Linked DNA regions of Homo sapiens: region 2 is linked to region 1. Evidence: promoter capture Hi-C in human tissues and cell types (Jung and others, 2019). All regions are on one chromosome and are shown on one strand. Each heading gives the region's core, a stretch centred on a gene start or on the middle of the fragment in contact. The rest is flanking DNA. Distances are from core to core; before and after follow the strand shown.

The links. Contacts are between HindIII fragments. The study calls those that stand out against the background at their distance.
Region 2: a fragment that was not itself captured here is called in contact with the fragment with the promoter of AQP8 in region 1 in 1 of the 25 tissues and cell types used here (spleen).

What each region holds. Positions count from the first base shown.
Region 1 is chr16:25,213,153-25,220,196 of GRCh38, reverse strand. It overlaps AQP8 (aquaporin 8), which reads right to left and starts at 3,250. Exons shown (of 6, transcript NM_001169.3): 1 at 3,140-3,250; 2 at 2,752-2,999. The coding sequence starts at 3,151. The HindIII fragment of the contact is 27,087 bases long and covers 1-7,044 here.
Region 2 is chr16:24,906,222-24,913,429 of GRCh38, reverse strand. It overlaps SLC5A11 (solute carrier family 5 member 11), which reads right to left. Exons shown (of 17, transcript NM_001352248.3): 12 at 6,666-6,773; 13 at 6,255-6,405; 14 at 5,299-5,467; 15 at 4,334-4,549; 16 at 2,953-3,124; 17 at 1,804-2,102. The coding sequence ends at 1,897. Among named protein-coding and RNA genes, the nearest start is that of SLC5A11, 64 kb to the right of the region's middle. RefSeq lists an enhancer at 6,481-6,981. The HindIII fragment of the contact is 3,545 bases long and covers 1,604-5,148 here.

The DNA.
Region 1 (7,044 bases), core at 2,001-4,500:
GGGCAGAGGACCTCAGCTCTGCCCAAAAGGACTTTGTCCAACACCCTGATAGCTCGAGACCAGCTACCCCAACTTGTCTGGCTCAGCTCTGGGCCCAGGCCCTCAGATAAGCTCCATGCACGGTTTGATTTGATTTGTTTTTTGTTTTTTGTTTTTTTTTTTGAGACAGGGTCTCCCTTTGTCACCCAGGCTGGAGTGCAATGGTGCAATCTCGGCTCACTGCAACCTCCGCCTCCTGGTTTCAAGCGATTCTTCTGCTTCAGCCTCCCAAGTAGATGGGATAACGGGGCTGCCACCACGCCCGGCTAATTTTTGTATTTTTGGTAGAGACGGGGTTTCACCATGTTGGCCAGGTTGGTCTCGAACTCCTGACCTCAGGTGATTCACCTGCCTCGGCCTCCCAAAGTGCTGGGATTACAGGCGTGAGCCACTGCGCCTGACCTCCATGCATGGTTTGAAAGCACCAGCCAGTGCTCAGACTCCACAGGTTGGGAAGAGGGGCAGCCAGGCCTACTTGGCCTCAAGTAGCTTAGCCTGGGCTCTGCTGAGATACACAGATGAAGTCAGGGTGAGGCGGCTTCCCAGGGGAGCCCCAAAGGGGAGAGAAACTGTCACCCAGAGCATGGCTCTATCAGGAGGGCCAGGTGACGAAAACCACACATTTCCTGGTTTACACTCATTAGCAATAAAACAATCAAGACACATTCATTCATTCATTCATTGTTCACTCAGCATATATTTCTCTGACACTTACTGTGTGCCAGGGGCTGTGCTGGGTGCTTATAACTTACATACATAGCTTATCCTGGATCCAGTGAACAACCTCAAAGTCAGTGTCTGGCACGCAATAGGTGCTGAATAAATATTTGTCAAAAAAGCCAAACAGAGAGGCAGTATTTGCAGTGCCAAAGAGATGGTCTTTCCAGCCAGCTGGCCTGGGTTCAAAGCTCAACTCTGCCACTGAAGAGCTGTGTGGCATTGGCAAAGTTACATAACCTCTCTGTGCCTCAATGATCTCTGCCTGATAAAGCTATTGCAAAGATATTAAGAATTAATATTTGTACAGCCCATAGTAGTATCTATGTAGTTAGCATTCAAAAAACATCAGCTATTATTATTACTCATATTTATACCACTGCACACAGAGGCTTCAGCAACTTGCTGTGGTCACCCTGCTAAGAAGTGATAAAGGTTGCCTTCAATCTCAGATCCGTCCAAAGGGAAGATCATGTACTTTTTGTTTCACTTGCAGCCTCCCTTGGACGTCTAAAGAGATGTGGTTTGTTTTTTGTTTGTTTGTTTGTTTGTTTGTTTTTTGGAGATGGAGTCTCACTCTGTTGCCCAGGCTGGAGTGCAGTGGCACAATCTCGGCTCACTGCAACCTCTCCCTCCCAGTTCAAGCAATTCTCCTGCCTCAGCCTCCGAAGTAGCTGGGACCACAGGTGCCTGCCCCCACGCCCAGCTAATTTTTGTATCTTTAGTAGAGACAGGGTTTCACCCTGTTGGCCAGGCTGCTCTCCAACTCCTGACCTCAGGTGATCCACCCGCCTCAGCCTCCCAAAGTGCTGGGATTACAGGCGTGAGCCACTGCACCCGGCCTAAAGAGATGTTAAAGCTCTTTTCCATTCTGGTTTTCTCAGAAATAGTATTTCTGTTTCCTCATTCAGATCTATTTTTTGAGTGAGATTTAATACAGACCAACCATGTCCCAGATCACCCTGCCAGGCACCCCACTCAAGATCTTCGTCGTGATGGCTGGCTCTCCTGGGAACCAGCAGCCATGTCCACAGACCTCCCCATTGAGCCTCTACCCAGACGAGAGCTAAGCCAGAGAAGCCTGTCCCTTTCCCTGCCCCTCCTTCTTGATCACCTCTTGACAAGCCAGGACCACTGCAGATCTCTGCATACCCAGGTGGGAAAACCTGGCTCAGGTCTTCTATGCATTTCTGCTTTCCCTAAAACCCCCTTCTAGTGGTAACAATAACACAGCAACCAATGCCTGTTGTATGTTTGGTGTGTGCCAGGCGCTCTACTTCATTTAATTCTCATGACTTCCGCATGAGGCACTTGGATTTGAGCGCTGGAGCCAGACAGCTTGTTCTTGACTCCCGCCTCTGCCACTTTCTGGCCCTCTAAGCTTGGACAGATTACATGGCCTTTCACTTTTGCAGCTGTACAATGGGGCTAATAACAGGACCTACCCCACAAGGCTTTTGTGAGGATTAAATAACTAATATCTATAAAGTAATTAGACTAGTGCCTGGTACATGGTTAGCAATATAGATATGTTGGCTTGAAAAAAAAAACATTTAAAAGCTACTATTCCCATTTTATAGGCGGGGAACTTTGGGTTTAGAGAGTAACTTGCCAGCCAGGCATGGTGTCTCATGCCTGTAATCCCAAAACTTTGGGAAGCCAAGGCAGGAGGATCGCTTGAGACCAGGAGTTCAAGACTAGCCTGGGCAACATAGTGAGACCCCATCTCTACAACAAAATTTAAAAATTAGTTGGGTGCTGCGGCGCATGCCTGTGATCCAGCTACTCAAAAAGAGAATGACTTGCTCAAAGTCACAAGCTCACAGGCTGCGGGGTCTGGAGTTGACCCCAGTCTGACTCCCAACCCCATAGTTATCCAGAGCGCTCCTTGAAATCCCGAATACGTATGCGCCCAGGGGTCCTTGACAACGCCTTTGCTTTCCACACCCAGTGCCCCAAGTCAGCATCAGGCTGAATCCTCAGAGCTGGTCTCACCTGATATTCCCCAGCGTGGCAATCACGAGCCCCAAAGCCAGCCCGTGGGCCAGGGCCGGCTGCAGCAGCCCAGTGTCCGTCCCATTCTCAATGACCGACAGGCACCCGATGAAGATGAAGAGAGCAGAGCCCAGCAGTTCGACCAGACATGGCTGCACAAACCGTTCGTACCAGGACACTCGCCACCTGCCACCCACGCTCGGCTCCCTGGCCTTGTCATTGCCAAATTCAGGCTCACACATGGCTATCTGCCGTAGGGAAAAAGGGACAGAGGACACGGGTGGGAGGCAAGTCCAGATATAGAAGGCCCCGACCCCCAACCTTGAATTAATTCACAGCCCCCCTTGCTCTGCCAGCCTGGAGAGGAAGATGCCGACAGAGGGCTCACCTCTCCAGACATCAGGATCAGATGGCACAAACATCGGACTCTTGCCTGAGCTGCTGGGAAACCTGCACCTGCTGTGCAAGATACTCTTATCTCCTAGGGACAGGACCTGCTGATCACACTATGGGCTCTGCCCCTTTTAAAGGGCTGCAGAGGCTCAATGCTGGTGCAGAGAAAGCAATAAACCTCAGGTAGGAGGCGGCTCTGAGGCCCAGAAGAGGAAATTTTTTTAAATCTCAACAGGGCAGGGTGAGGGAGTCAGGGATTGCTGAACTTTCCGCCAGTGAGGGAAAAACACGCCAGCTTGGCTGTGTCATCTGGGAGCACACTCCAGGCTGTAGAAGGTGGGAGATGGGTCCAGCACCCCAGCTCCCCACGGTCCAAAGCAGAACAGCACATGTTAGTGGGCCCCACTGGGTTGGAACCTCACATGTTAAGAAACAGCAAACAGCCAGGTGCAGTGGCTCACGCCTGTAATCCCAGCACTTTGGGAGGCCGAGGCAGGTGGATCACGAGGTCAGGAGATTGAGACCATCCTGGCTAACACGGTGAAACCCCGTCTCTACTAAAAATACAAAACTCAGCCGGGCGTGGTGGTGCACGCCTGTAATCCCAGCTACTTGGGGGGCTAAGGCAGGAAAATCATTTGAACCTGGGAGACGAAGATTGCGCAGAGCCAAGATTGTGCAACTGCACTCCAGCCTGGGCAACAGAGCAAGGCTCTGAAAAAAAAAAAAAAGGAAAGAGAAAGAAGAAAGAAAGACAGAGAAAGAAAGAAAGGAAAGAAAAGAAAGAAAGAAAGAAAGAAAGAAAGAAAGAAAGAAAGAAAGAAAGAAAGAAAGAAAAAGAAAGAAAGAAAGAAAGAAAGAAAGAAAGAAAGAAAGAAAGAAAGAAAGAAAAAGAAAGAAAAAGAAAGAAAGAAAAGAAGGAAGGAAAGAAAGAAAGAAAGAAAGAAAGAAAGAAAGAAAGAAAGAAAGAAAGAAAAAAGAAAAAGAAAGAAAAGAAGGAAGGAAGGAGAAAGAAAGAGAGGGCGTGTTGGTGTTTGCCTGTAATCCCAGCTACTCAGGAGGATGAGGCATGAGAATCACTTGAACCCAGGACCCAGAGGTTGCAGTGAGCCAAGATCGCGCCACTGCACTTCAGCCTCAGAGTGAGACCCTGTCTAAAAAAAAAAAAAAAAAAAAGAAAGAAAGAAAGAAAAAAGAAAAGAAAGAAACAGCAATCCCATTTTCAATTATTTTTCCAATGAGTCCCACAGCTTCAAACACCTGCAGTCACCGTGACAGCCTGAGCCAGGACTGAGTGTATAGATGACGATCCTTCACAGACAGAGGCAGCAGAGACTGGCAAGAGGTAATGCAATGCAGCGGCAAGACCCATGAACTTTGGAAATAGGCTGCCTGGCGTTCAATCCCAGCTCTGCTGTAAACTAGCTATGTAACCCTTGGGCACATGACTTGGCCTCTCTGGGCCTTTGTTTTCTCATCTGTTAGGTGTGGATGTTAGTGGTTTCACCATGTCATAGGGTCGTTGGGAAGTTTAAATGAGATAATACGGGTAAAGTGCTCAGGACAGTGCTAGACACACAATACCAGTGTCCACTAATTTACAATACATGCTTAGCTGTAACTAATAGCTAATAGTGAGCACTTTCTATGTGCCAGGCACTGGGGCTAAGTGCCTTCTATTATCTCATTTAAACCTCACTGCCACCCTGTGAAGCAGGTACTATTATTACAACCATTTCACAGACGAGGAAGTGGAGTGTCAGGAAGATTGAGTTTCCCAAGATTACACAGCTTATATGATCACAGAACTTGTGGGCTGTCACAAAAGGATAAATACTGTATCTGATTCCACTTGTATGAAGTACCTAGACTAGTCAAATTCATAGAGACAGAAGTAGAATGGTGGTTTCCACGGCCCGAGGGGAAGGGAGAATGAAGAGTTTGTGTTTAGCGGGTACAGATTTCCTGTTTGGGAGGAAAGTTTTGGGATGGATGATACAGTGGCACAACAATGTGAAGTACTTAATGTCACTGAAATGTACACTTAAAAATGGTTCCAAATGCTGGGTGTGCTTGGCTCACACCTGTAATCTCAGCACTTTGGGAGACCAAGGCAGGAGGATCACTTGATTTTAGGAGTTTGACACCAGTCTGGCCACATGGTGAAACCCTGTCTCTACTAAAAATACAAAAATTGGCTGGGTGTGGTGGTGCACGCCTGTAATCCCAGCTACTTGGGAAGCTGAGGCAGGAGAATCGCTTGAACCTGGGGGGCAGAGGTTGTAGTGAGCTGAGATCACACCACTACACTCCAGCCTGGGTGAGAGGATGAGACTCCATCTCAAAAAAAAAAAGGTTAAAATGGCATATTTTATTTTATGTGTATCTTGCCACAATTGAAAAAAAATACTTGTGAGCTAACCCACTACACTCTACTGCCTTTCTAAGAGAGATGGATGGATGGATGGATGGATGGATGGATGGATGGATGGATAAGTGGATGGATGGGTGGATGCATGGATGGATGGGTGGATGGATGGATGGATAGATAGATGGTTGGGTGGGTGGGTGGGTGGATGGATGGATGGATGGATGGATGGATGGATAGATGGGTGGGTGGATGGATGAATGGATGGATGGATGGATGGATGGTTGGAAAGAAGGGAAGAAAGAAAGGAAGGGAGGGAGGAAGGAAGGGAGAAAGGAAGGAGGAAGGAAAGAAAATGAGATGAGTTCCTTATTCATTCATTCACTCACCAAACATTTAAATAGCTGCTGCAAGCCAGTCACTGTTCTAAGCTGGCTGGAGATGTAGCAGTGAACAAGACAGGCAAAATCCTGCTCTGTCTCATAGCTTTATCTTTGAGTGTTTGTATGCACTGATAGAGAAGTCAAGCTAGAGCTAACGGAATTTTAATGCTCATTTCTGACATTTCTCAACTACTCACTACATCTCCAACACCATGCTAAACACTCGGTATATATTCGTAAACCCCTTTGAGATAAGTCCTATCACTTATTATCACCATCTTCAGATGATAAAAACGAGGCACAAAGAAGTTAAGAACTCACCCATGGCTGTGTACATAAAAATATCTGCTTCAGGACAGAAGTGGACATATCTAGAGAAGAGCGTGACAGTTTGTTGACAGCCCATGTCAGCGAGAGGCCCAGGAATACAGGGTCTCTGCCAAATATCTGCACCTCTAGGAAGGTTATTTTTAGCCCTGTTCTCTACCTCCTCCATATCCCACAGCACATCATACAAGATGTTTCTTAGACCCTTCCTTCCACATCCTATAAATAGCAACATAAGATAGTCTGACCCAAGGCTTCCCCATCCCCCTCATTATTTGCTCAAATCCTGCCAGTACTGCTTCCAGAATAATTCTCTCTTGTTTTCACCCATGCCTTCATCTGTTCTTGCTTAGTCCCTTGAACAAAGAAAAACTAAGCTGGATGCACTGGCTCGCACCTGTAATCCCAGCACTTTGGGAGGCCAACGCGGGCAGATCACAAGGTCAGGAGTTCAAGACCAGCCTGACCAACATGGTGAAACCCCATCTCTACCAAAAATACAAAAATTAGCTGGGCATGGTGGCACACGCCTGTAATCCCAGCTACTCAGGAGGCTGAGGCAGGAGAATCGCTTGAACCTGGAAGACGGAGGTTGCAGCGAGCCGAGATCACACCACAGCACTCCAGCCTGGGCCACAGAGCGACACTCCATCCCACCCCCCCACCCCCCAAAAAATGGATTCTTTGCTCACATAATAGTCCATGACAGGCTCGTCTCCAAATGGTGACTCAGGGATCCAGGCCACTTCCATCTTGGAGCTGCCCCATCTAGGTCCTCAGATCTTCTCCAGCAAAATGGGAAAAAGAGAATGTGGAGGGCTG
Region 2 (7,208 bases), core at 2,127-4,626, 310 kb after region 1:
GTGAAGACTTCTCCTTGAGCCCACTTGCTCCAGAACCATTCCACGCTCCTGCCTGGAGCCATGTTAGCAGCCAGTTCCCCGCCCATACCCCTTCCCAGGAGGGCTGGGGGTGCCCTTTGTCCAACCTACTACTGCTATTTGGATTCCTGTAGAGAGCTGGGCCTATGAGCAGAGCTGAGGCTGGACCAATACATTATTTGCCTGTGCACCAGGCCAGTCCTAGCTGTTGGCATCAAGTAGGAACCAGAAAGACATCATCACTGGAGGATTAAGTGGGTGGGCAGCTCCTCAGCCCCAGGGGGTCCTGTTTACTTTCCTCTGGTCTGAAAATTGGGGTCCCTCGAGAGACTCCTCTGCTTTCCAGCTCTGTCAGGCCAGGAAGGGGTTCTAGTCCACCCCACCTTATCCCAGGCCTGGATGGTTCATGGCCCTGAGCTACTCCAGAGATGGTCTCAGGGCTCACTCCGTTGGCCCTGTCCTGCTCTTAGCTCTGCACGTGGCAAACGCAGCCCTGATGGGTCATTCCGTCAGACTCCAGTGGGCCCAAAGCTGGGAAGCTGAGGAGGCTGGCTCTACCCAGAACAGGAGGCCGCTGCTCTGCAGGTCAAAGCCTTACTGGCTTTTGGTGGGGAGGTTCATTGAGATGCACATCCACCTGGCTGCTTCTTTTTAGGGAAGCATCATCATGGGGAATTAAGCAAAGAAACACAGTCTAAGGCTGGGTGCGTGGCTCACACCTGTAATCCCAGCACTTTGGGAGGCCAAGGCAGGAGGATTGCTTGAGCCCAGGAGGTTAAAACCAGCTCAGGCAACATAGGAGAGACCCGCCCCCCATGTCTCTGCGAAGAAATTTTAAAAATTAGCCAGGCATGGTGGTGCATGTCTGTAGTCCCAGCTACTCAGGAGGCTGAGGTGGGAGGATCACATGAGCCCAGGAAGTCAAGACTGCAGTGAGATCTCAGGGTGCCACTACATTCCAGCCTGGGTGACAGAGTGAGAGAGACCCTGTCTCAAAAACAAGAGTCTAAGCCAGAACTTGAGAAGTGCACACAATTCCCTGATTTTCTTACAGCACAAGATTTCAGAGTACCAACTGGGGTCTATTTCCAAGAAATATCTAGGAGAAAGTATCACAGTGAGAAAACTCGGGGACCTTCACCCAAAGCCAGCCACAGTGGAAGGCAAGAGATAGAATGCAGGTCCCATTCTTTGCACTGTGAAGGTGAGCTGGGCAAGTTCAGATGCTAAATATCCAACCCCGGAGATGTGGCTGCTGTCAGCCTGGGAGGTCTTGTAAGTCCCTTTGCTTCTTTATCCCTTTGAATTTGGGTATTGATGTTGCACAATGGATAAGAAGAATGAATAACTAGTCTTTTGCAAAAGGAAGCTTTTACATGTCTCTCCTCTTTCCATCTTCTAACCTTCATTATTTTCAAGAAGAAAAGAGGCTGGGCATCGTGGCTCATGCCTGTAATCCTAGTACTTTGGGAGGCTGAGGTGGGGGGATCACTTGAGGCCAGGAGTTCAGGACCAGCCTGGGCAACATAGACCACATCTCTTTGAAAAAAGGAAAAATTAGCCAGGCATGGTAGTGTGTGCCTGTAGTCCTAGAAACTTGTGAGGCTGAGGAGGGAGGATCACTTGAGCCCAGGAGTTTGACGTTGCAGTGAGCTATGACCATGCCACTGCACTCCATCCTGGGTGGCAGAGCGAGACACTGTCTCAAAAAAAAAAAAAAGAAAAAAAGAAAAAAGAAAAGAGCTAAGTGTCATGTTGAAAATGGTCTATAAACACTTGGAAGCCTTGTGGTAAACAAAAGCTTTATTATTTTTTCTTTCATTAAAAAAATGGAGCACTGAAGAGAAACAGAGTTTGGACCCCTGGGTTCACCCCACACTAAGCAAAATAGCCCCAGATAAAGATGGCGCAGCTCACGCAGAAAATGAGGTTGACGTCCAGGAGGGTCTTCACCAAGGGGTTTTCTTCCAGGGAAACTATGATGGCTTCTGCTCTGGCCGGGAGCTCTTCCTTGCCCTTCTCCTGTATTCCACAGAGCCACAGGATGGCCTTCACCACTTTGGACTGCTTTGGGGTCATGTCACCTAGAAAGAACCCAGCAAAGGAAGACCGTAGAGGTGGTCTGTATCTCCCAGAGAGGTGAGACAGGGACACTCACCAGATGTGTTCAAGTGCTGGGATTACAGGCGTGAACCACCATCCACTATGCCCGACTGAAATCTCCCTTTTTTTTTTTTTTTTTTTTGAGAGAGTCTCACTCTGTCGTCCAGGCTGGAGTGCAGTGGCGTGATCTCGGCTCACTGCAACCTCCACCTCCCAGGTTCAAGCGATTCTCCTGCCTCAGCCTCCCAAGTAGCTGGGACTATAGGCATGCGCTACCATGCCCGGCTAATTTTTATATTTTTAGTAGAGACAGGATTTCACCATGTTGGCCAGGCTGGTCTTGAACTCCTGATTTCAAGTGATGCACCCACCTCGGCCTCCCAAAGTGCTGGGATTACAGGCCTGAGCCATGCTGACCGGCCAAAATCTCTCAATTTTTAAATGTTAACTCACATTTTGTTGAAACTGTAGGTGGGCTAAGCCAAAATATGTCTGCAAGCCGCCAGTTTAGAAGCACTAACTGAGAGAAGGCAAGTTGTGTTCCTGCCTACCCATGTGCAGAGAATAAGGATGAAATGAACCAACCGTGTCTCCGTAGGCACTCAACAAGTGTTTGTTTGCTGTTAGTGCCCGTAGGAAGCTTGTTGAAAGTTACTAAAAACTCCTTTCCCATGGCCGGAGCGTGGGGACAGATCAGACACTGGAGCCAGAGGATGCTAAAACTCCAAGTCTGCCCACTTTCCTGGCTTGTGATTTGATAGGAAAAAAAAAAAAATCAATCCCTTTAACACGTACTCCTTCTTGCTGTAACTGAGGAGAGAAGCTACTCACAGCTGTGGGTTTTAGACGTGTTTTCTTGAACCATCTCGAACTGGACGCTGCTGCTGCTGCTGGCCTCTGGCATCCCGTTCTGAGAGAGGGTAAGAGACAAGGGAGCTGCTGGTGGTGCTTGTTCCTTCTGGACCACGGGGTCGTGACGAGTAAACCAGGTCAGGTGGCTGACCTAAGGAGCAGGGATGAATGATGAGATTTGTGGTGGAGGTGGGGCCGGGGTTGTCCATCCTTTTCTCACACTCCCCACCCAACCCCACACTCAGCCTTTGTGTCTGAATCTGCTCCCAGCCCCACCCTCCCACCCCATCCTCCAACAAGCATCATGTTCCTGCACTCTTCAACATCAGCGCACAATTCCCCTGCTCATTCCCACGTCTTTCTCCGATAAACCCCATCCTCCTGTTGCTGGGATGTGATTATCCCTCATTCTAATCCCCAGAGCTTAACCCTCACCCTAGAGTATTGCAGGACCCCAGAACTGGTCATTTCAGCTCATCCGTTTCTCTGGCCACAGGGATTGAATTGGTTCACGGATGAGCATGTGTCCTGAGCTGACTCCATCAATGGAAATCTAGAAATTCTCTAGAAATTCTGGGACAGAAATATTAATGCTTATTTTTACTTTTTTTTTTTTTTTTTTTTTTTAAAGACAGGCTCTTGTTCTGTCACCCAGGTGGGAGTGCAGTGGCATGGTCATAGCTCACTGCAGCCTTAAACTCCTGGGCTGAAGCAATCCTCCTGCCTCAGCCTCCCTAGCAGCTGGGATTACAGGCATGAGCCATCACGCCCTGCTAATTTTTTCTTTTCCTTTTTTTTTTTTTTTTTTTTTTTGTGAGACAGGGTCTTGCTCTGTCACCAAGGCTGGAAGTGCAGTGGCATGGTCATAGCTCACTGCACCATCAAAACTCCTGGGCTCTGGCAATCCTCCCACCTCAGCCTCTCTAGTAACTGAGATTACAGGCATGAGCCATCACGCCCTGCTAATTTTTTCATTTTTTTAAGAGACGGGATCTCACTATATTGCCCAGGCTGGTCTCAAACTCCTGGCCTCAAGTGATCCTCCCATCTCAGCTTCCCGAAGTGCTGGGATTACAGGCATGAGCCACCGCACCCCAGCCTTATGTTTACTTAATGACAGTAAAAGAGGATGTATCTCTAGAAGATACTGGGCTCCATATGGGACCTAAGAATTGAAGCAGAAGTGCAGATGGATTCTGATGACCTTTTCAGAGTCCCAAATCATCCTGCCCCTGAACCTCAACCCTGGACTTTTCAGCTTTTTGGACAATCAGTCTCCTTCGCTTAAGTCAGTTTGAGTCAGTTTTCTGTCACTTCCAACAAAAAGTCTCAACGGATCTAGCCATCAGCCCAAATGTACCATCTCCTTGGAGGGTGGCTCTGTGAACCAGCTCACGGTGGAGACAGTGATGAGGGTGACCGTGGACAGGATCATGGAGAAGTAGAGGTAGTGAATGCTCTTCACCAGGACCGGGCGCTCATCTGGCTGGTCGCATCGAGGCTGCACGTAAATAAAGTCCAGGACCAGCCTAACCAAGCCCAGGAGCAGGCCCGAGATCAGGCCCCAGAAGGCACCCTGCAAAATCAGAGCAAGATCATCTTAGAGACGCCAAGGGCTCTGGCCTCCAGGAACCTCAAGAAGCCATCTCCAGGACTTGTCTTTCTTGTGGTGGTCACTGCAAGCACGGGTCAGCAATTTGAAAAGGTTCTGCAATACTTAACCATTTATCTTTTTATAATGAATTGATTACTAATAGTTTACTAACTCCCTCTTAATTTAGCTTCCCTGTTCAATAACAAAAAATGCATCAAGATACTTTTCATGAGAACCTCTCATTGCTTTTTTTTTTTTTTTTTTTTTGAGACAGTCTCACTCTGTCGCCCAGGCTGGAGTGCAGTGGCGTGGTCTCAGCTCACTGCAACCTCTGCCCCCCAGGTTCCAGTGATTCTCCTGCCTCAGCATCTGAGTAGCTGGGATTACAGGCGCCCACCACCACACCCGGCTAATTTTTGTATTTTGAGTAATGATGGGCTTTCACCATGTTGGCCAGGCTGGTCTCAAACTCCTGACCTCAAGTGATCCACCCACCTCGGCCTCCCAAAGTGCTGGGATTACAGGTGTGAGCCATCGCAGCAGCCCTCTCATTGCTTTTTTGCAAAGGTCAGATAAACACCCTCCCTGTATCTTCCACCAATGGAACTCACCCTCCCTCTCAACACCCAATTCCAGCCTGTGTCTCCCTCCAACACCCTCCCCTCCCATCCTATCCCAGTCCTCAAGGGGCAGCACTTGGTTCTGGCATAGTGGGAGCCATCCAGAGCTACCTTTTCATTGGTCCTCTTCCAGAAACATCCCATGATGAAGACCACCGCCACAGGCGGCTGCAGGTAGGAGCTGATGGACTGGATATAGATGAAGAGCTGGCCGCCCTGGCTGGCCTGGACCACAGGGATCCAGAGGATGGAGACCAGGACCAGCAGCAGCACAAACACCCTGGTGCCGGCGGCGAGAGGCACAAATTAGCATCATCTGAACATTTACTCCTCTTTCCCTCTCTCTGTCTCTTTTAATAGACAGGGTCTTGTTCTGTTGCCAAGGCCGGGGTGCAGTGGTGAGAGCATAGCTCACTGCAGCCTCCAACTCCTGGGCTCAAGTGATCCTCCTGCCTCAGCCTCCCGAATAGGTGGGATTACAGACACATGCCAACACTCCCAGCTTATTTTATTTTATTATTTTAATTTTTTTTTTTGAGACAGAGTCTCACTCTGTCACCCAGGCGGGAGTGCAGTGCGTCATCTTGGCTCACTGCAACCTCTGCCTCCTGGGTTCAAACGATTCTCCTGCCTCAGCCACCTGAGTAGCTGGGATTACAGGCACACGCCACCACAGCTAATTTTTGTATTTTTAGTAGAGATGAGGTTTCACCATGTTGGCCAGCCTGGTCTTGAACACCTGACCTCAAGTGATCCACCGCCTCGGCCTCCCAAAGTACTGTGATTACAGGTGTGAGCCACCTCGCCCAGCTGGGTTAAAATTATTTGCTTATTCTCCTCCTTCCCTGGCTCCATGAAGGCAAGAACTGAGCCCTTTCATGGTTATGTGCCCTGTGCCTGGTACACAGTAGGTGCTCGTTCAGCATCTCCTGAATGAATGAATGTCTTGCACATGGAGTCCTAATGCTCTTCAGCCTGGATAGGTTGCTGGCTGAACCTGGACTTTGCCTCTGGGTGGGCTCAGCTCTCTCTTCCCCCTGCCCCAGCCCCACCCAGTGGGGACTTACCTGCCCACAATCATGAGCTCCTTCTCAGATGCCCGAGGCCGGAGGTGATTCCAGAGGTCCATGGTGAAGATGGTGCTGGCACTGTTAAAGATGGAGGTGAGGGAGGACATGAGAGCCGCCACCATCACAGCCATCATCAGCCCACGGAGCCCTGGGGGCGGAAGGGAGGTCATGGGCCTCGGTCCTTTTCTGCCAAAGCAGCCGATCCCAGTGGGCTCAACTGGAGGAGGCAGAACCTCAGGGAGGACGGCGGGGCAGAGCTTCCTGCAGGACGTAGCCTTTCTTGGGGAGCCCAGAGTCTTCCTCCCCCACCAGCCCTCCTTTCTTGACCCTGCCTTGGATCAGAGCCCATCCGGTGATCTCCTTTCTGGGTGCTCCAGGGGACTTGATTCAGGAGTGAAGGGACATTACCTGTGGGCAGGAGTTCCAGCACGAGTTTGGGATACGCGATGTCCGAACAGCCTGAGGGGTTGCTGCAGATCTTCTGGCAGATCTCTGGATCTGCACAGGCCACTTGATCTACGAAGGAAACACAGGCCCAGAGGTGAGCAGTCAGGCCCCCAGAGCCCCAGGCCCAGGCAACATGGGGCCGGACACAGGCTTATCATATGGAAGTTTATAGCTCAATGAAATAAAAAAGAGTCTAGACTTTATAAGCTGTGACCTTGTTACTTACGCTTTCTGAGACGAGTTGCCCTATTTGTAAAACTAGGATAATAACACGACTTTATAGGAAGTGCTGGAAAAAATTCAGCTATTGTTATCGTAACCCAGATGAAGCTGGGACACCTAGTGGCCAATCTTACAATAATGTCTTTTTTTTTTTTTTTTTTGAGACGGAGCCTCTTGCTCTGTCGCCCAGGCTGGAGGGCAGTGGCACGATCTCAGCTCACTGCAACCTCTGCTTCCCAGGTTCAAGTGATTCTCCTGCCTCAGCCTCCCGAGAAGCTGGGA